Linked DNA regions of Homo sapiens: all the other regions are linked to region 5. Evidence: promoter capture Hi-C in 16 types of primary human blood cells and fetal thymus (Javierre and others, 2016). All regions are on one chromosome and are shown on one strand. The core of a region is centred on a gene start or on the middle of the fragment in contact, and the rest is flanking DNA. Distances in the headings are between cores, read along the strand shown.

What was found. The method cuts DNA at HindIII sites, captures the fragments that hold promoters and counts their contacts. A CHiCAGO score of 5 or more calls a contact.
Region 1: a contact is called between the fragment with the promoter of M1AP here and the fragment with the promoter of TPRKB in region 5, in 1 of 17 cell types (activated CD4 T cells). The highest score is 6.1, in activated CD4 T cells.
Region 2: a contact is called between a fragment that was not itself captured here and the fragment with the promoter of TPRKB in region 5, in 1 of 17 cell types (neutrophils). The highest score is 8.8, in neutrophils.
Region 3: the fragment with the promoter of TLX2 here is called in contact with the fragment with the promoter of TPRKB in region 5 in 1 of 17 cell types (neutrophils); the score reaches 6.6 in neutrophils.
Region 4: a fragment that was not itself captured here is called in contact with the fragment with the promoter of TPRKB in region 5 in 1 of 17 cell types (erythroblasts); the score reaches 5.8 in erythroblasts.
Region 6: a contact is called between a fragment that was not itself captured here and the fragment with the promoter of TPRKB in region 5, in 1 of 17 cell types (non-activated CD4 T cells). The highest score is 6.3, in non-activated CD4 T cells.

The regions. Positions count from the first base shown.
Region 1 is chr2:74,646,657-74,649,860 of GRCh38, reverse strand. M1AP (meiosis 1 associated protein) reads left to right here and starts at 1,531. Exons shown (of 11, transcript NM_001321739.2): 1 at 1,531-1,596. The HindIII fragment of the contact is 10,572 bases long and covers 1-3,204 here.
Region 2 is chr2:74,489,251-74,492,801 of GRCh38, reverse strand. It overlaps TTC31 (tetratricopeptide repeat domain 31), which reads right to left. Exons shown (of 13, transcript NM_022492.6): 3 at 2,675-2,777; 4 at 2,329-2,558; 5 at 2,063-2,146; 6 at 1,618-1,674; 7 at 1,427-1,507; 8 at 1,130-1,321; 9 at 747-798; 10 at 573-663; 11 at 357-498; 12 at 55-156. Among named protein-coding and RNA genes, the nearest start is that of TTC31, 7.9 kb to the right of the region's middle. The HindIII fragment of the contact is 4,043 bases long and covers 278-3,551 here.
Region 3 is chr2:74,513,183-74,516,371 of GRCh38, reverse strand. TLX2 (T cell leukemia homeobox 2) reads right to left here and starts at 1,922. Exons shown (of 3, transcript NM_016170.5): 1 at 1,166-1,922; 2 at 502-739; 3 at 1-399. The coding sequence starts at 1,565. The coding sequence ends at 183. RefSeq lists enhancers at 1-184, 185-686, 2,936-3,189 and silencers at 1,215-1,284, 1,865-1,964, 3,002-3,061. The HindIII fragment of the contact is 6,557 bases long and covers 1-3,189 here.
Region 4 is chr2:74,361,096-74,364,585 of GRCh38, reverse strand. DCTN1 (dynactin subunit 1) reads left to right here. Exons shown (of 32, transcript NM_004082.5): 27 at 958-972; 28 at 1,159-1,292; 29 at 1,409-1,592; 30 at 1,857-1,936; 31 at 2,445-2,534; 32 at 2,950-3,431. The coding sequence ends at 3,087. Among named protein-coding and RNA genes, the nearest start is that of DCTN1, 17 kb to the left of the region's middle. The HindIII fragment of the contact is 2,943 bases long and covers 569-3,490 here.
Region 5 is chr2:73,735,810-73,739,022 of GRCh38, reverse strand. TPRKB (TP53RK binding protein) reads left to right here and starts at 1,678. Exons shown (of 5, transcript NM_016058.5): 1 at 1,678-1,721. RefSeq lists enhancers at 1,237-1,296, 1,337-1,416. The HindIII fragment of the contact is 15,665 bases long and covers 1-3,213 here.
Region 6 is chr2:74,530,853-74,533,891 of GRCh38, reverse strand. It overlaps HTRA2 (HtrA serine peptidase 2), which reads right to left. Exons shown (of 8, transcript NM_013247.5): 3 at 2,787-2,981; 4 at 2,521-2,553; 5 at 2,190-2,295; 6 at 1,967-2,036; 7 at 1,178-1,273; 8 at 573-1,072. The coding sequence ends at 907. It overlaps LOXL3 (lysyl oxidase like 3), which reads left to right. Exons shown (of 14, transcript NM_032603.5): 13 at 1-10; 14 at 213-1,634. The coding sequence ends at 286. Among named protein-coding and RNA genes, the nearest start is that of HTRA2, 2.4 kb to the right of the region's middle. RefSeq lists an enhancer at 2,853-3,039. The HindIII fragment of the contact is 295 bases long and covers 1,243-1,537 here.

The DNA of each region.
Region 1 (3,204 bases), core at 282-2,781, 910 kb before region 5:
CATTTGCTGGAAACTTAGTACCCAATGGAATAGTGTTCAGAGGTGGGGCCTAACAAGAGGTGATTAGGCCATAAGGGCTCTGCCCCCATAAATGAATTAATGTCATTATCTTGGAAATGAGTTAGTTATTGAGAGAGTGGGTTTGTTGTAAAAGTGAGTTCAGCTCCCTATTGCTGTCTTGCTCTTTTGTACCCCTTGCCCTTCTGCCTTCTGCCATGGGATGACACAGAAAAAATGCCCTCACTAGATGTGGGATTCTCAACCTTGGAATTCCTACCCTCCAGAATTTAAGAATACATTTCCTTTATTTACAAGTTAGTTGTTCTGTGGTATTCTGGTATAGCAACACAAAGGGGAGTAAGACAGGTAATGCTGGGGTTGAGCCTAGTAAGGTAGGTGGGGTCAGTTATAATGGACCCTCTAACCGAAAAGGAAACATAAGCCATTTTTAAGACAAAGAATGATATGATCAAAATATTTTTACAAGGACAATTCTAACATCAGTGGAAACGATAATCTGGAGATTAGAGACAGAAAGGCTAATTTGGACTATATGGGGGGAAAGAGCTGTTGAGAAGCTACCCTTTAAACTGAAACACAGGAACTCTATTGAATATCAGATTATAGTGTTTAAAAAAGGACATAGGTTAAATAGTTCTGTTCTTACCTGAGGAACAGTTGATAGGAGCAAAATGGTTTAGTGGGACTAGAATACAAGCAGGCAACTCTTTTCCTGTTGAAACATCTAACCTATCCTGTGCCACTCATTGAAATATTGCCCCACCCCACCTCCAACCTGCATCTAGACAATGAACTGAGAAAATAACAATAATAATAATAAAGAAAACAAGGAAAACTGCTTGTACATTTCTAGCTTGGAACTAGCATTATCTTTCCCTCTCCTGTGGACTAATTCAGAGAATTCCTTTTTAACCAGAGTTGAAGACCCAGACCAACCAACTGTTAAGGACCAGGACGCTCCTACCCCATCTGGAGTTCGTCAAAGGGACTATGGGAATCAACCTCAAGTAAGCGAGAATGAGTATGAAGAGAGCGACAGACCCTCTTGGAATACAGGAGTTTGAAAAGACTTAAAAGAACTTTGTGAAGGCAGCTATAACTTCCATGAGGGCAGTGACCATTGTCTGTACATCCACTGTACTCCAATCCTAGCACAATGCGTGGCACATAACGTGCCCACCACAGATGTTTAGTGAACAAAATAGCGACTGGCTGAAGGAAATGATGTGGAAGGGAAAAGTTAAAACCAAGAAAACGGTCGGTGGGGGAGCTACTGGCATGTTTCATGGGAAGGGGTAGAAAAAGAAAAATGTCAGGTTTAGCACAGCATTTCCAACAAATAGACAAAATTCTACCTAAGGGACAAAGAAGGACTGTTCTCAGGGTATCTAGGGACTTGGAGACCGTTTTCCTGAAGCGCCACCTGAAGCGCACCCTGAGGCAGCCAGGCCCCGCCTTGCCCGCAGTGAGCCTCCCGCCCAGCCGCGCCGGCCTGAGGGGGGCGCCTCCGAACGCGCGGGCGCACGCTGAGAGCCGGGAGGACCAGGTGAGGGGGCCTCCGTCTTCCGAAGACAGGTACGGTTCTCCACGCCTCGGGGAGGGAGGGCAGCCCGAGAGCAGCCGGCACCACTTCGCAGGCTGGGCTGGGCGTGGGCCGAGCTCGGGCCAGTCCTCAGGCAGGTGTTGGTTGCGCTGGCCGTGGCGGGTGCCGGCGCAAGACTGACGCCGAGAGAGGCTCCGAAATCGCTGTCGGAGTCATCCCTCCGCATACTGTTCTGGGCGGCCAGGCCTGCGCGGAGTCTGGGCCCGGAGCTTCCTCCGCGGGGCCCCCAGGCCCGAGGGCCGGGCTGCTGATCCGCCAGGCACGGTAGGCGCCATGCCGAGGGACCACGGAGGCTTCAGGGAGCCACGAGAATTTTTTTTCTTCTGGTTTTGCTTTGTTTTTGAGACGGAGTTTCACCCTTGTTGCCCAAGCTGGAGTGCAATGGCGTGATCTCGGCTCACTGCAACCTCCGCCTCCCGGGTTCAAGTGATTCTCCGCCTCAGCTTCTCGAGTAAGCTGGAATTACAGGCTCCCGCCACCACGCCTGGCTAATTTTTTTATATTTTTAGTAGAGACATGGTTTCCCTATGTTGGCCAGGCTGCTCTCGAACTCCTGACCTCGTGATCCGCCCGCCTCGGCCTCCTAAAGTGCTGCGATTACAGGCGTGAGCCACCGTGCCCGGCCACGAGAATGTTTTCATTTCGTTTAAAGTGAACCCATGAAGTCAAAGAAAGTGTTTTGATTTTTTTCTCACATCAGGAGGGGGAAATGAGATTTTTAGGGCCTACAAAATCCATTAACTTCTTTTAATCTTTTTTTAATGGAGGAAGGGGTCCACGAAGACGAAAGTGCCTTAGGGCCCACGAAATCTTTAATAGGGCCCTGCCAGAGGGAGAACCATTGAATCGTTTATCACGCGACAAAGTGAATGAGGGCTTGTAAAGGGGCCCTAACCTAGAATGCTCAGCACGGAACAGAACATCCGCAGAGGCAGACACAGCGAGAAGCCGATCTGTGAGAGGTGGATCTCCCGGGGTGCGGGCAGGGGAGGGCCTAGTGTGAGGATGGAGAGTTGGGCAGAAGGCACAAGCAGAACTTTAGGGCCAGGGTAAAGATATTGGATTCTGTTTCCAGTGGTGTAATTGGAAGTCCTTGGAGGGTTTTTAGTTTGGGCATAACTTGGTGGTTTGGAGTGGTTCAAGGCCCAGTTCCAGTTTTAACCAGTTTGCAGGGAGAATTCATTAAGCGAGTGTTCTTGGCAAAAGTGGAGAGTATAGGGTCAGAATAAGGTCAGAGCCTGTTTAGTACTATGCCCAGACACATCAGATGCATGAATTGATGATGTTTGAGGATGTAAGGAAGAGAGCTGCCTCTTACCTCATTTAAAATACAGTCTTCCAATTGCACATTAGTGTGGGATTGAAAAATGACTGCAAGCTGAAACCATTCAAAGAGATCTTAAACACCAATGGGAAAAATTACAGTTGTTCTATAACCTTGAAAAATTGTCAAAACACTAAAACTTTCTTACTAACTGTATAGGGAAATGTAAAACAGTAAAACTATTTCATACACTAACTTAAAACATTAGAAACATTGAGAGCTAAAGTGTTTTATTTGTTGAAAAAAAACTCTCATA
Region 2 (3,551 bases), core at 1,050-3,549, 750 kb before region 5:
AGCCAATTCTCCCTGATACCCGCCTCAGCATGACAGTGTGCCTGGCCCCCTTACCAGTGTGAGGTGGAGAAGGCAAGAGCGGAGCTCTCGGGCTGCGTCAGGCTGGGACCCACCTCTCAGAGTTTCCTGAAACACAGCAGCTGCCTCTCTGAAGCGCTTTGGTCCCAGAGGGATCAGAAAGAAAAGATTAGGTGTCAAGGTGCTTAAAAGTACCCTTTCTAAAACTGGCCCCTGCTCCTAGTACCACAACCATTGTGACACTTTGGTACTAGAAGCTTATCTAGAAAGTCAACATAGACCCTCTCCCCACTCCATCCCACTCAAATCTCTCCTGTTTCCAGCCCCAGACCTATTACCTGTAGTCCCATCAAGGCCTTGCCCAGGCGGAAGAGGCCCCGGGGCCAGCCAGGCCGTAGGGTAAGGGCCACCTGGGCATCAGCCAGGGCCCACGCTGGCTGACCCAACCGCTCATGGCAGAAGGAACGATTTCCAAATAACCTGATAAAGACAGAAGGTGGCCAAAGGTCTGAGTCCTCAACACTCTGCCCTGCCCTGGCCAAGCCCCCACCTACCGGTGGTCCTGGGGGTTGAGCTTCAAGGCCTGGGTGAAGAGGACCACGGCCTCATGGTAGAAACCATTTTGAGCAAAGCTGGTACCCAACTCTGGAAAGGAAAGAGGGTGAGAAGGTTCAGATGGGGCTACCCCAGGGAGGGTGGGGTGAGGACGGAGAGAGAAAGGATCTCACTTGCCAGTTCCTGGCTCTGTTGTAAGGCAGCTGCCAGCAGTCCCGGAGATGCCTGGGGATAGGGTGCAAAGTCAAGCAGGTCTTGAGGTCTCAGCCTCCCCAAATCCTTCTCCTTTGTTTAAACAGGTAACACTGCAATTAGCATTACCCAACTCATGTAATCCTCATGACAGCCCTACAAGATGGTATCAGCCCTATCTTCCTAGACAGGAAACCACCCGGGGTCATGGTGACAGTGATGGGGCCTGACTGTAGGTCTCTTGACCCTAGAGCCAGAGAACTCCCACTGGACCCTGTGTCAATCCTTAGACCCTGTGCCTCCCCAGCAGCTCCTTGTGCCCCTTCCACGGTTCCAGCTGAATAAGGTTCTTCAGCCACCTCACCTGTACCTTTGGACTCTGCTGGGGCCTCTCCTCTCTTGGAGGGCTCTCTTCCTCTTGACCCATCTTCTGGAGGGCCAGACCCCTGCCTTGGGGCTCCTGGTTCAGTCCCTTCTCTCTGCGGGCACTGAGGGGCCAATCCCCAACCTTGCGCAAAGCCAGAGACACAAAAGTGCTAGATAGATCCAGTGAGTCCTGTGAACAAAATGGAAAGTTAGGGAGGGGGTGGGGATGAAGTACATTCTGGAGGAGGAGGAGGAAAATGAGCAGAGACCAAGAAGGGAAAAAAGGGGCTCTCACCTCTTCTTCACCACACTGTCCCTGAACTGGGTTTCCAGGGCTGGATGGGGGGCTCTCATCTCCATCTGAGGTAGTGCTGGCCTGGAAGAAAGATAGACAGGTACAGAGTTGGGATCACCTTGAGCTGCCTGCTTTCTTGGCCCTCACCTTCCTGGCACTTGGTGCTCTTAGTACCTGCCCTAGATACTCACCTTGGGCTCCCCACAGTACTGCTCCAAACGCTCCTGTCGCTTCCGTTCCTTTTGACGCTGCAATAGTAATGGTAACAATGATGTATTTTGAACACTTACTGTATGTCGTGTGCTGGGCTAAGATTTCGCATTCCATCTTTGCAGCTCTATGAGACAGGCATCATTATTATCCTCATTTTGCAGGTGAAAAAGCAGACAAGAGAGGCACCAGCAAGAGGCCTCATGTAAGGAGGCAGATTCCTACCTAGGCAGCACAGTAGGATTCCAGAACCACTGCACCAGATGGCCTGTGAGAGACCCCCCAGTCCCTGGGCCCCTTGTGTCCTCCTGGCAAGAGAGTCCACTGCAGGCCATCTTGAGCTCTCTCCTGTTCCCACAAAGTTTCCTCTTTCCCTCTCCCAAATCCCTTTGGCTCCCCTGCACCCTCCAGCCATGCTCTAGCCACCTTCTTCTTGAGTCGCTTTTTCTCTGCTTTCTGTTTCATGCGCTCCTCCTCAGCCACCAGCTCCTCAGCCAGGCGATTGGCTTCCTGAAGGACGAAGGGCAGGTGACAGAAAAAGAGAGAAACAGGGAAATGGAGAGCAAACATGAAAGGGGGCAGGCAGTATAGAAGGATCTTGAAAGGTACCAATTAGGGGAGAATATAGGGATGGGGATACAGGGATTGAAAGAACCCTGGGGGACGGCAAAGCCCTCTCCTGAGAATCTCACCTCTTCTGTCACCAGGAGCTTCTGGGGCATGGCCACCTGAAGCAGGCTGTCTGAGACACTGGGGAAGGTGGCAGAGGCAGAGGGGCTTTGAGGGCAGGGCTCAGACTCTTGGGGAGGATACAGGAAGGACTTGCGGAGACCACAGTAGGTGCCCAGTCCCTCAGCCCCCTTGCCCCTGTCACTCTGTCCAGTTGATTTCCCTTCATCATCCAAGTGGCCCAGGAGGTAATCTGTCAGGAGGGAGAAAGAGACAGGAAAGAAAGGACATGAGAGCGGGGTGCATCTGAGGGTCAGCCCTCCCAGGGTACCAGCCTCGATCCCTGGGCCCGGTCCCTGCACTCCCCACCATGGTGCCACAGCTGCAGCCGCCCGCTGCTCCCATCCACATGGATCCGGTGCAGGCCCTGGGGATCACTCTCCACAAGCCGTCGAAGAAAATCCACTATGTCCTGGGAGGGGAGGGGAGGGGAGGGGAGGCTGGTGTTGGGGGCAGTTCCTGGAGAGAGCAAGGGCTTCGCTGGCTTGATCTCTCCACCATGGCAGCCACCAACCAGCTATCCAGCCCAGAGACTCTCACTGGCTCTGACCTCTCCCTCCTCAGCACCGCAAAATCTGCTGCCCCCAGCTATTGTAGTGAATCACCTCCCCTCGCTGCTTTCCTGCCTTCCCAAGGGTTGAGTATGGTATTCAACCTGGCCTCCTCTACCATCCAGGATCTTCTCTCCTCAACCTGAGTTAGCCACACTGAGGCCCCTGGAATGAAGCCCTCCCACCTGCTCTTCCAGCTAGGCCCCCTGTCATATCTGCAGTATGAACAGCTCCACATAACCCACCCTGAGGCTAGCTCACACCTAAACAAGTACAGCAGCTCCTGGCTGGCCGCTCCTCTGCACCTCATCTGTTTCTCCACAAAACTAAGCTCTAAGAAATTACTTCCCTACTCAGGGACATCCAATAATCCCCCACTGCCAAGGCCATAGGCAGAGTTGAACCTAATTCCTCAGCCTACGATTCAGAGCCTTCCAAAAGGCTCCCAGGCTGACCTTTCCAGCCCTCCTTTTAATCCTCCCCTGCTTCACTGCTGTCCTCCCTCCCACCACCAGGCTCCCTCCAGCCTTGGGGCCTTCCCCCAGCTGCTCTCCAATCCCTCCTAACTCTTGAGCTTCTTTCTCACATCTTGCCTCACCTTCAAGGTCCAGTTCAAATTCTATCTCCCTTCAAAG
Region 3 (3,189 bases), core at 673-3,172, 780 kb before region 5:
GAGCTGGCCGTGCATCTGCGCAACGCTGGCTTGGGAGCCGGCCGGTGGTGGAGGAGCCCTCGACGACAGCCTCAAGGCCTGCCGCTCCTCACGCGCCCGGCTGCCACTAGACCATGGACGCAGGCAGCCGCGCGCTCCACCGCTCCGGGCCCGGCGCTCCACGCCGATCGGACGGGCGTCGCTCACACCACCGAGGCGAGCCCGGACACTGAAGCCACTTTGTTGTCCTCGGCCCAGGGCTGCAGGTTCTGCAGCGCGAAGAGCGACGAGTTGTGCAGGCAGAGAGGGTCCGGGGGCAGCGGCGGCCGCAGCGGCCGTGGCAACGCGTCCTGCTGCAGATGCAGGAGCAGCCGGCCCGCGCGGTGCCGCTCGGCCTCGCGCTCCTCCGCCGTCTGGCGCCTAAGGGAGGGAGACGCGGGGTCAGCGGGGCGCCCGCCGCGTCGCTTCTCACCAGGCCCTGCTCGGGAACCCCAGTCCGCCCTCGCCCGCGCCGCGCCTCACCGCCACTTGGTGCGTCGGTTCTGGAACCACGTTTTGACCTGTGCGTCGGTCATGCGCAAGGCCTTGGCCAGCGCCGCCCTCTCCGCAGAGGCCAGGTACTTCTGGCGCAGGAAGCGCCGCTCCAACTCCAGCACCTGTGAGCGGGAGAAGGACGTGCGCGGCTTCTTCCGCTTCGGAGGGGTCCGGTTTTGGTAGGGGTGGCCTATGCGGCGCGTCCCAGAGAAGGGCGAGAGCGCAGCTACCGGGAGGAAGAAAGACCAGGGCAGGATTTGCAGGGTGGCCCGAGGTGCCACTGAGAAGGCCGCGCGGCTGTCCAGGCCGCAGAACTCCCGCGCCCTGTCCTTACCCGGGCCCTAAGCATCAGCCGAGCCCTATAGCCAAGAAAGGCCCTTCCCCTGGGATGCGAGGGAGACGTCCCCTGTAACTTCACCCTCCCCTCCCCACGCGTGGACAGTGGGACTACAGAGGAGGGCGCGGGCACCGACGGCAGCTCCCTCCCCATCACCTCTCGGAGGCAGGACCCAGAGATTTGAGTTGGGGGAGGATCCCCTGGGAGGATCTAGTGGGAGGTGTGAAAGGGGTCCTTGAGTTGGAGCAGAAAGCTAAGAAATGAGGAGACGGGGTCAGAGTCGGGCGTGACGCTGGAGGGGTCAGACAACCTCACCCGTGAGCCGGTCCTTGGCAAAGCGGCGGCCGCTGTCCATCCAGGGGAAGGTGAGTCCCGCTAGGCCTCCGGCGCCGCCCAAACCCGAGGGCCCAGGCACTGCAGGCGCCCCCCCAGCGGGCGGCGGCACAGGCAGCGGGCGGTGCGCAGGGACGCGGATCACGCCGCCTGGGCCCACTCCGGAGCTGCCGGGCAGCGGGGCAAGTGAGCCGGCGGGACCGTAGCCCGAGGCTCCGTGGTATCCACCCGAGAACGCCCCATTCTCCCCATGACCCTGGCCCCCGCGACCCAGGCCTAGACCGCCCCCTGGGGTTTCGGGGCCGCTCAGGATCTGATCGATGCCGAAGCTGATTGGCTCGTGGTGTGGGAGGTTGTGTGGACCCAGCATCCCCGGCTCCATCGGTCTGGGCCGAGGAGAACCGCCGGAGGTTCGGTGGTTGGGGAGGATGCCTCAGGCAGCGCCAGAAGCCCAGCGGCGGCGCGCTCCGGAGAGTGGCCTCAGGGGCCCGCGGGGCTGGCCAAGGCAGGGCGCCGGGGTCCCCGAAACAGCAGCATCCCTGTGCACCCGGAGCAGCCGCGCCCGTGCCAGCCGCTGCCGGGCGTCAGCGCAGGGACTTGCATCCCGGGGGAGCACGGCCAGCTGGGGCCCCTGGAGCTTCCTTGCTGGCTCTTAAGCGCAAATAGACGCTGGGCTGCCGGCGCCGCTGCCCAAGTCCCGGGTGGAGAGGGTTGGCCAGCTCCGGCTGGGGCAGTGACTGACGGATCGGCCCGGGTGGGTAGTGGGGGCTGGGGGTAGGGCAGGGGCGGGGCCCAGCAGTTAAAGGGGAAGGGACGCCTGTTTGCGCCAAGCGCAGGGGGAAGGCTGGCTGGCGGAGATGTGCGGGGAGGGGGACAGGGGGCCAGGGTGTTAGGAGCCAGGCTCAGCGCGGGAGGGGCCCGAGCATGGGCCGCTGAGTCAGCGGAGATGCTCACCGCGCCTCCATCCTTGCTGGCCTCCGCCTTTGGGCGGCCTCCGCCTTTGGGCTGCCTCCGCCTCACCGGCTTCCTCCGCAGGTGCCTCCTCCCCCAGCCCCCACTCTTCGCCTCTCGATGGATCCTTCTGGCCAACTCCCGGATTCGTTGTGGTCCCCGCCTAAATGCTCTCGAAGACCAAATCTCGTTGTGGTTTCCCGGCTGCGTAAGAAGCGGCTGGGGAACGGCGCCCGGTGAGCTGCAGGCCCAGGAAGAGAACAGGTGTGGGAAGGGGACGGCAGGGGCTAAGGGCGGGGAACGGCCGCTTTGGGCTGGCGATCGTGGTGCGCCTTCTGGCCTCTCCTGTAGGTCCCCCCAGCCCTGTTCATGCGCACCGGTAATTGGTGTCCTGTGTTTCCTAGAATTTCGATTTTCCAAAATCCGTGTAAAACGGACCATGGCTCAACCCGGGCCAAATCAGGCCGGCGGGTTCTTGGGGCTGGCACTTACCCCCGGACCCCAAGTGCAGGGAGTCCTCAATGCAGGACTCTGCCCCTCCATTCTGTGCCTAGGAAGTCTGTTCTCACACTCTTCCTCCTCAACGGCGGGAGGGCGAAATCTCGCCACGGGGGACACGTGGGACCTCACTGAGGCCTTGGTTGGATCCTGGCCGCCTTGTTTCCCATAAACATTTTACCCCACCCAAACTCAAAAAATGGCCTGGAGCTGTCAGAGAAGGGAGGTGGGGAAAGACCTAAGCCGCTTGGTGACCTTGTGACCTCTGGCCATGAATCCAGGAGCCGGGAGTGCGTGAACTCTGCGTCCTTCCCGGGGATGGGACCCCCGCGGGCGGGCCCCTGAGCCTTAGACCCGCCCCCGCCGCCGCCCTGCCCGGTGCAGGCCGCGGTAATCGGGTTAGCTGGGCCGGAATTACATTACCTTCCCCGGCCCGCCCCGGCCCCCGGGGGGGCCCTGGCGCCTCTGAGCCGGTGAGACTGGGCTCAGAGAGGGGGGCGCTTCTACCATCCTGCGGTGGCGGTGGCGGGTGGGCACCAACGAGCAGCTCAGCCTAC
Region 4 (3,490 bases), core at 791-3,290, 630 kb before region 5:
TTGTGTTTTGACCTTTGTCTAGTCACTCAGTATAGTCAGGGCTCCTCACCTAGAGTTTTTCTGGTTACCAGTTCTAGCCTCCCCAGTTACCTGACTCAGGAGGTGGCTGCTGCTGTCTTTGTTCTCCTCTGCCCTATAGTTTGTTTTGTTTACTCTCCAGTTTCTCACTTAACCTTCTCACCTCCAGAAGACAGGCTTTTTGCCCTGGAATTAAACCCTTAGGGCCTCCAGACTTTCCCAGCTGCTCCTGAGTCTTGTCAGCTGACCTCACCTACATAGAGTCTTTGACAAAGTCTCTGTTACTGACACCCCTTGATCTTGGGAGGTGACCAAGTACCTTCTTGACTTTAGGCTCTTGTGGTACAGACAGCTCTGTGTTCTTTGGAGAGAGTTTCCAGGATTACTACTTTGTGTTGTTTTTAGCACTCTTGAAACAAACATTAGCACTCTTTAAACAAACATAGTTCTGAATTTATGAAACTTCCCACCAAAAAAGAAGGTCTTTTGCCTCAGAGCAATGGGGAATCCTTAGGAGCAAGGGAGTGTGTTTGCATCCCCAACTTAAGCTTTGCTGCTGGTGAGCACTAAGGGTGCAGACATATTGGGGTCTCTGGAGCATTCTCCGTGCCCTTCTTGGAGATGGCATCTGAGACAGGGAGGCAGGAACAGCCTCATGTTCCAAGTACTTTGTACAGTGCACACTCTCTTTGCCACTGTTCTTCACACATTGTACCCTGTCTTGTGGCCTCACTCCTGTTTGGTGTCTTTCTTTAACACTTATCTGCTCGTCCCCAAAGATAGGTGGCAGAGAGTCTTGTTAGAGAAAGTATGATGATTAGGAAAAGGGTTTTCCTGCAGGTTGTGTCCAGGATTCCTCTGGTGTGTCCCCGTAACCCCCAAATCACCTAACTCCTCTCTCCTCTTTTCCTGCTCCCCCATGGGCTATCCCGAGCACAGAAGAACAGCAGCGAGGTAGAGACCCACTCTGGCCGGGGGTTACCAGGCTGGTGGGAGTTGGAGCTAAGGGAGCAGGGTGGAGGGGGAAGCCAGGACTGGAGATGGGTGATGGGGGGATGAGGAAAGGGGAAGAGTAGGAATGGAGCCCAATTTTCAACCCTTTCCACTTGGGGCTGATGAGATTTTTTATGGTCCCCACAGGAGCCATCCCTGGGCAGGCTCCAGGGTCTGTGCCAGGCCCAGGGCTGGTGAAGGACTCACCACTGCTGCTTCAGCAGATCTCTGCCATGAGGCTGCACATCTCCCAGCTCCAGCATGAGAACAGCATCCTCAAGGTGAGGGAGCCACGGGGAGGACTGGGATGGGAGATGGAGCATATTTGCCCCATTGATGATAGATGACAGGGGCCTCCTAGCACCTCTTACCACTATCCTTCTTTTTTCATCCACAGGGAGCCCAGATGAAGGCATCCTTGGCATCCCTGCCCCCTCTGCATGTTGCAAAGCTATCCCATGAGGGCCCTGGCAGTGAGTTACCAGCTGGAGCGCTGTATCGTAAGACCAGCCAGCTGCTGGAGACATTGAATCAATTGAGCACACACACGCACGTAGTAGACATCACTCGCACCAGCCCTGGTATGTACCTGCCAACCCCCAAGATGAATAAAACTGCCCCCTCCACTTGGCCCAGGGATTTAGCCCCTGCTCAGGTGGTTCCCCCACCACAGAAGCTCTTCCCAGCAGTGTTCTTTGGCTTCACTGTTCAGTTTGTTTGATTCACCCACTCTCTCTCAAGTACTTGTTCTGTTAGAGAGTCTTATACCTGCACCCCTAACCCTTAATCCAGTAGAACTGCCTGCCTGCGCCTTGGTGGGCCTCACCAGCTTTCTCTCCCCACAGCTGCCAAGAGCCCGTCGGCCCAACTTATGGAGCAAGTGGCTCAGCTTAAGTCCCTGAGTGACACCGTCGAGAAGCTCAAGGTCAGCTCAGTTTGCCAGGCAGAGCTCACTTCACAGCATAAACTGGTGGAGCCAGGCACTTGTGGAGTTCCTCTGAGCCCAGCCCTGTGCTAGACAGCAATTGGGGAGGAGATGGAAGGGAAGGCAGGGTTCTTGCCTTGGAAGCTCACTGTCTCAGTGCAAACAGAAGACAGATTCTCATAACAAAATGGATAAGCTAGGGTAATCTTTAGAGTGACTGGTTCAGGCTTTAGCTTCCATCAGCGCTGAGATCATTGTGGGGTAGAACGGTTGGGCATGGCTTCCCAAGAGCGGTAGAATGTGAGTTGGGCCTTACAGGATGAGGACTTGCAAAGTAAGGAGGAGTGCTGGTGTGGGGATGGGGTTGGAGATGAGAGCAAAAGTATGTTGATATAGAGGACTAAGTCCCTGCCCCCCTGGTATTAGTGTCTCTGTGAAACCACGTGGTCTTGTGCTAGCCTGTGGGGGTCCCATAAATGAACCCTTGTCTTCCTCTCCCCTTCCCTAGGATGAGGTCCTCAAGGAGACAGTATCTCAGCGCCCTGGAGCCACAGTACCCACTGACTTTGCCACCTTCCCTTCATCAGCCTTCCTCAGGGTGAGGGGGAGCATGGGGTGGAGGATGGGACAGTGTGGAGAGCTCAGGCGGGCCCCCCTCTCCTCCAGAATTGGAGGAGGCCTTTGGAGTCTCAGGTCTAACAACTGCATACCTTGGGTTATCTGGCCAAATTTTACTTACAAGTAACTCAGAAGTGCTTACAGTGCTTTGAAATTCCAATATTTTAGCACCTAAACACCTTCCGTGACTTTTGACACCAGGAGGGCCTCAAAACTCCCTTGTCAGATTATGTATCCCCATTCTTATTTGAAAAATGTGGTCACAATAGCCCAGGATCTCAGAAGCCCTAGTCACCCAGGAGCTGCCTTGGTCTCAGTGCTCAGGGACCCCTTCAGTGGCCCACAGCTCAAGTGAGCCCCTGACCTGGAGTCTTTTTCTCCTCATCAACCACCAGGCCAAGGAGGAGCAGCAGGATGACACAGTCTACATGGGCAAAGTGACCTTCTCATGTGCGGCTGGTTTTGGACAGCGACACCGGCTGGTGCTGACCCAGGAGCAGCTGCACCAGCTTCACAGTCGCCTCATCTCCTAAGCACTCCTTTCCCCTGCTGTCCCCTTCGACCCTCAGCCCTCTGGTGCCGCTCTGCCCGATGCACAGCCACCTCAGCCAGCCCCCAGGTAGAAACGTGGGTTAAGCTCTTCCTGCCCCGTTCAGCTTCACTCCCACCCTTTCAGCGTCCTGCCCCTTCACCTTGACCCGGGTTCCCCCACTCCCATTCCCTGGCCTCTGCCATAATTTGTTGTTCAACTGCTCCCTCCTTCCTGAGGGGCCTCAGGGCTTGTGGGGGGTAGGCTGAGACCCCACCACCAAAGGTTAAGTGAGGTCCCCTTGATTGAGGACTTCACCCCTTGATTAAAGCAACTTCTGCTTCAGTGCTTCCTGTGTGGTGTTGAGAGTGGGACTTGGGCCATTAAGCTCACAGCAGGAGTGGAGG
Region 5 (3,213 bases), core at 429-2,928:
TGTAGCATCCTGTGATAGAGAGAGACTAACCAGACCAGCCAGGGCCCTGTTCCAGTGTCTCCCAGAAATAGAATGTCCTTCATATATATATGTATATATATATATATATATTTTTTTTAATTTTAATTTTTATTTATTTATTTTTTTTTGAGAGGGAGTTTCACTCTTGTTGCCCAGGCTGGAGTGCAATGGCGCGATCTCAGCTCATGGCAACCTCTGCCTCCCCAGATCACGTGATTCTCCTGCCTCAGTCTCTTGAGTAGCTGGCATTACAGGCATGAGCCACCATGCCTGGCTAATTTTTTATTTTTTAGTAGAGACGGGGTTTCTCCACGTTGGTCAAGCTGGTCTCGAACTCCCGACTTCAGGTGATCTGCCTGCCTCGGCCTCCCAAAGTGTTGGGATTACAGGCGTGAGCCACCGCACCTGGCCGAATGTTCTTCATGTTTTAGCCCAGTGTGTCATGCCTCCCCACCTCTTCCCCCTGCCCCTGCCCCCTGCAATTAGGCTGTTGCATTGCCACAAAGAAATACCTGAGACTGGGTAATTTATATAGAAACGAGGTTAAATTGGCTCATGTTTCTGCAGGCTGTACAGGAAGCATAGTACCACCATCTGTTTGGCCTCTGAGGAGGCCCCAGGGAGCTTTTACTATTGGCAGAAGGAGAAGAGAGAGCAGGCACATCACATGGTGAGAACTGGACCAAGAGACTGTGTTGGAGGGTGCCACACACTTCTAAATAACCACATCTTCCTGGCACTCACTCACTATTGCAAAGACACCAAGCCATGAGAGATCCACTTCCATGACCCAAACACCTCCCATCAGGTCCCACCTCCAAAAATGGGGACAATTCAACATGAGATTTGGCAGGGACATATATTCAATCCATCCCTGGACCCCCAAATCTCATGTCCTTCTGACATTGCAAAACATAATCATGCCTTCCCAATCACCTACCAAAATTTTAACTTGTTCCAGCATTAAACTCAAAAGTCCAAAGTGTCACAGGAGACATGGCCCAGAAAAAGAACTAATCCCAGCTCCTTGGGAGGCCAAGGCGGGTGGATCACGAGGTCAGGTGATCCAGACCATCCTAGCTAACACGGTGAAACCCCGTCTCTACTAAAAATACAAAAAATTAGCGGGGCGTGGTGGCGGGTGCCTGTAGTCCCAGCTGCTCGGGAGGCTGAGGCAGGAGAATGGCTTGAACCGGGACGCGGAGGTTGCAGTGAGCCGAGATTGCACCACAGCACTCCAGCCTGAGTAACAGAGCAAGACTCTGTCTCAAAAACCAAAGAAATCTCCAGCAGCGGAAATGTATGTAGAACTCATTTTGGTCAGTACTTTTCCTTGTACAGGAAGAAACTGAGGTCGCCCGGTGCAACGCCCAACACAGGTTAAGACAAAGCCGAGACTCAAAACCAGACCCCAGCTTCCGGTCCCAGCCCATAGATTCTTCCATTTCCTTCGCCGGAAGTGATATACAGCCCCTGTTCTCCTTCGCGTCCGTTGACGGGACCCAGGTTGGGGAGGCGGAAGAATGGGCGGGACCATGGGCGGAAGCACCCCTCCTACCAGGACCCGGAAACAGATGGCCACCCCGAGCCGGCCTATCCGGAAACTGGCTCGAAGAAGACGGGGATTGGCCATCGCTTCCGGAAGTTGTGAGCTTTGTTTCGGAGCGGGAGCTCTTCCGAGACGCACTGGGGGCCGGATGGTGAGTTTTCCTTGCGCTCTAACGGGCAGGCTCGGGAGCGGGAGGGTCCGGGCAGTTTTAGTAGTGTCTTTGGGACAACGGCTGCGGTTGGTATTTCTCAAGCGGCAACGAGGCCAGCCCCTGGGAATGCAGCACGAGAATGATAGAGTCAGGCTGTCCCCTCAAGAAATAGTTTAGTGAGGAGACATGCAGCGGATAGGCGCAGGATTCTTCAGAGTTGTGATTGGGCCCAAAAAGGAGCTAGTCCTCAGACTAAAAAGAGCCGTAGTGCCGGGGTTCTGGGCGCTGTAGTAAATGGACTCCAAATGGAGTTGAAGGGAGGGAGGAGTGCGTCAGGCGGAGATGAAAGGAGAGAGGGAACTACCTGTCCGATAGGGCAGAATCGGGGAGAAAGGTTGGTGACTTGAGCTTAGAGAAGGCCATTGCGGCGGTAGCAGAAGAGGAGAGGCAGGGACCAGATCGTAGAGTGTGGAACACCGTGACACAAAGTTGGGGCTTTATCATAAGAGCAGCAGAATGACAAGATCTGATGTACATTTTGAAAGGATCACTGTAACTGCTGGTGACGACTGGATTATAGGAGGGCAGGAATTGTGAGAAACCACTCAGAAGGCTACTGCTGTAGATGAGCGATGTGACCTAGCGTATGGGAGAGAAGTGGACGAATCAAAAGTATATTTAGCAGGTGAAAATTCAGGACTTTACGGATTAGATATAGGATTTGAGTGACAGGTTGGGTCTCAACGATGATTCCAAGTTTCTGACCTGAGTGAGTAAATTACGCTAAACAAGAACAAACTATTTTGAAGTTTTCTAAGGGTTCTTCCCCCCACTCAGTGTTAAAAAGCACGTTTTTTTCCTTTCTTATTATGTGTACTCATGTTTTGTGTGCTTACTGTAGAAAATTCAGAACATACATAACAAAATATTTTCTTTTATATAAAGGACAATAAAAATCACCTCATAACCTCACTACCCAAGATGGTCATATTTTAGTGTTTCTTTCATGTATTTTAAAAAAATATGTGTATCTTTTTATATAATTGGGATCCTACTGATTATGTCTTTCTGTATCCATTTTTTCCACCTTAGCATGACTAATGATTGAACTGTGTGCCAGGATATCGTTCACAAATATATTTTTTTCTGTTTGTAACAGAAAAAGTCAAATTAATTCTAAATAAGAGATAACATTAACTTTTTGGTGTATTTTCTTTTTAATATTTGTTTAAAAGCCTTTTAAAAAACCCACATTTTGGCCAGTTTGTGTTTTGTTTTCCATTCAGATGTTTTTACTTACTTAATGTTATTTATTGCCGTTTTTACACACCGTCAAGACCACATGTTTTAATGGTTGTTAAATAACAACTAATCCCATCATTAGCTAGATAGGTTATTTGCAACTTTTTACTGTTAAAATAATGAGAGGAACATCTTATATAATTATTGGATTCCTAATGACTTCCATCAGAAAGAGTTCTAGAAATATAAT
Region 6 (3,039 bases), core at 141-2,640, 800 kb before region 5:
TGCCACATTGGTATTTGATGGGAAGAGCAACCCAGGAAGATTAGGGGATGGGAGGGAAAGACGTTCATTCTCTTTTCCATAGCTTGTTTCTCCATCTTCCCACCTTCCTGTAGAGCTCTCAGTCCCTCCACTTCTACCCACCCTTCTCCACAGTGCATCTATCTCCCTCCCTCTGTGCAGGGCGCCTCCCAAATTGCCTGTCCACTCTGCAGGTGATGCCTTCAGTGAAGAGGCCAACAGGAGGTTTGAACGCTACCCTGGCCAGACCAGCAACCAGATTATCTAAGTGCCACTGCCCTCTGCAAACCACCACTGGCCCCTAATGGCAGGGGTCTGAGGCTGCCATTACCTCAGGAGCTTACCAAGAAACCCATGTCAGCAACCGCACTCATCAGACCATGCACTATGGATGTGGAACTGTCAAGCAGAAGTTTTCACCCTCCTTCAGAGGCCAGCTGTCAGTATCTGTAGCCAAGCATGGGAATCTTTGCTCCCAGGCCCAGCACCGAGCAGAACAGACCAGAGCCCACCACACCACAAAGAGCAGCACCTGACTAACTGCCCACAAAAGATGGCAGCAGCTCATTTTCTTTAATAGGAGGTCAGGATGGTCAGCTCCAGTATCTCCCCTAAGTTTAGGGGGATACAGCTTTACCTCTAGCCTTTTGGTGGGGGAAAAGATCCAGCCCTCCCACCTCATTTTTTACTATAATATGTTGCTAGGTATAATTTTATTTTATATAAAAAGTGTTTCTGTGATTCTTCAGAGCCCAGGAGTCAGTGCTGGTGGTTGGAGGGACCTGCCCCCACTGGTTCATTTAACCCTCTGTCTCGGTGCCCTCAGAACCTCAGCCAGAAAGGCAAGGAGGAAATCAGAGCAGGAGCCTCATACTCTTGGTGATCTATTCATTCTGTGACCTCAGGGGTCACATATAAGGTCAGTGTTTCTCGTCCCCGCCGGATCTGCACTGCCAACTGGGATTGGGTTCGAACAGCTTCATAAACATCTTCAGCATTTTGTACCATCTGCTCCCCAATGGCCAAAATCACATCACCAGGCCGCAGACCAGCCCTATAGAGAAAAATGGACAGAGAGAAAGGAAGGAGTACAAAGCCTAGTTCAAGGACACATGCACACCTTGCCCATCCCCATATCACACTGCAGCCTCTCCCTCACCGGTGTGCAGGGGAGCCCAGGATGACTTTATGGATGAGTACACCATGCTGAACATCGGGAAAGCTTGGTTCTCGAAGCTGTAGTTCAGCAAGGATGCTGAAAGTACACAGATCACCCTATTAGCCAAACCCAGGCATTCTCCCCATCCTGAGTTCCACCTCAAGTCTCTCATCAACACATTGATAAATATATGGACAGGACATGGGCTAGGTACTACAAAATACAATGGCAACTCACTTTCTGTCTTCTAGCAATAAAGTGCAACATGTACATAAAAGATGTACACCACATGAGGGCACCAAATGACAAACAGTGTTAAATCAATAGCACTAATGTCATTCTAGAATACTAAGAGAAGCTTTAAGGGGAAAGAACTTAAGTTGAGCCTAAAAGGATGGATCTGATATTAACCATATAAAACAAGAACAGCATAAATAAAAAACATGGGAGTAGGAAATCAGGTTGGCTGAGTATTCATATAGGAAGGTATTACAGCCAGGTCTAGAAAGTTGATTTACAGACAGATGGAAAATGGCCCTTAAATGCCAAGTTAATGGATTGAAGGCTTGAAATCAAAGCAGTAACAGGATGAAATCAATCTGGTGACAGGTGTACAAAGTGGAGTGGGATAAGAAAGTCAAGATGATGAAGGGAGACAGCTCTTGTGATTATTTCAAGTGTGACACAGTTCATCTTAGATAAAGACAGAAATGAGAACAAAGCTCAATAGAGGTGCCCCCCTCTGATTACACTGGTCACATTACATGTCACTGTCCCTAAAGCTCATACCTGGGACTCAGGGTCAGCATCATCACCCCAATGTAGCGCCGCTGGGACCCACTGATTCCGGAGGAGGAATCTGTGACAGAGGGACAAATGAGCCCCACCCAGCTACATCCTTCCTTCCCTGCCCTCTTCTCCCAGTAGACCACCCTCCAGGAAGTCCCACTGAATGCCCTTCCCCTATTTCCACCACATTAAAGGAACCCGTTTCCCCATAAGGCAGGCTCACTCTTCTTTTCCCCACGATGCAGAAACTCTCGAAGACGATCAGAAGGGATGGCAAAGGAGATTCCAGCTGTGACCTTCATGGTGTTCACTCCAATCACCTCCCCATCCTGCAGGGATACAGCCCCCAGTTCCCTAGCCTAAACAAATAGTAGGGGATGGGGGCACCCGAACAAAAGTACCAGCAAGTGTTGGGGAGATCTGGTTGGATATTGAGAGATAGCCAACAAAGAACTGCTCAGAAACTTGACCAAACATCCTTGAATTAGGGGAAACCTACCCTTCCCACACTGACCTGGGGCAGGGATTCTTGGAAGGAAGGATGTCTCACTCACCAGGTTAACCAGGGGACCTCCAGAGTTTCCAAACTGTAGGACAAGGAGAAAACATGAAAGAGATCTGGGGATTCTAAGTCTGGGGGCATACCAGGATGTAGGTACTTTCTCCAAATTCTCTTCTTTCTCAGCCCATGAATAAGTGGCCACATTTTTGCAGCCTAAGCTCTATATAGGCTCATCCACCATATATCAGTTGGTGCTTGTACCACACAGCCTCTCCCCCCTCCCCCATCATTTGTCATTTCTCTCCTATCAGGACGCACATCAATAGCTGCATCAGTTTGAATGTATTCCACATTGGTTTGGGGGAGTCCCAGGTCTCTGGCTGGACGCTGAGCAGAGCTAACAATGCCGGATGTGATCGTGTTCTGCAGTGCAAAGGGACTTCCCATGGCAACAACAAACTCCCCTTGCCGGACATCAGCTGAGCGTCCCAGAGGCAGCGTGGGGAGAGGCTCCTAAGGGAGAATGGGTAAAAGAGACCTGTCATCTGAAGATGCGAGCAAATAAGCAGCT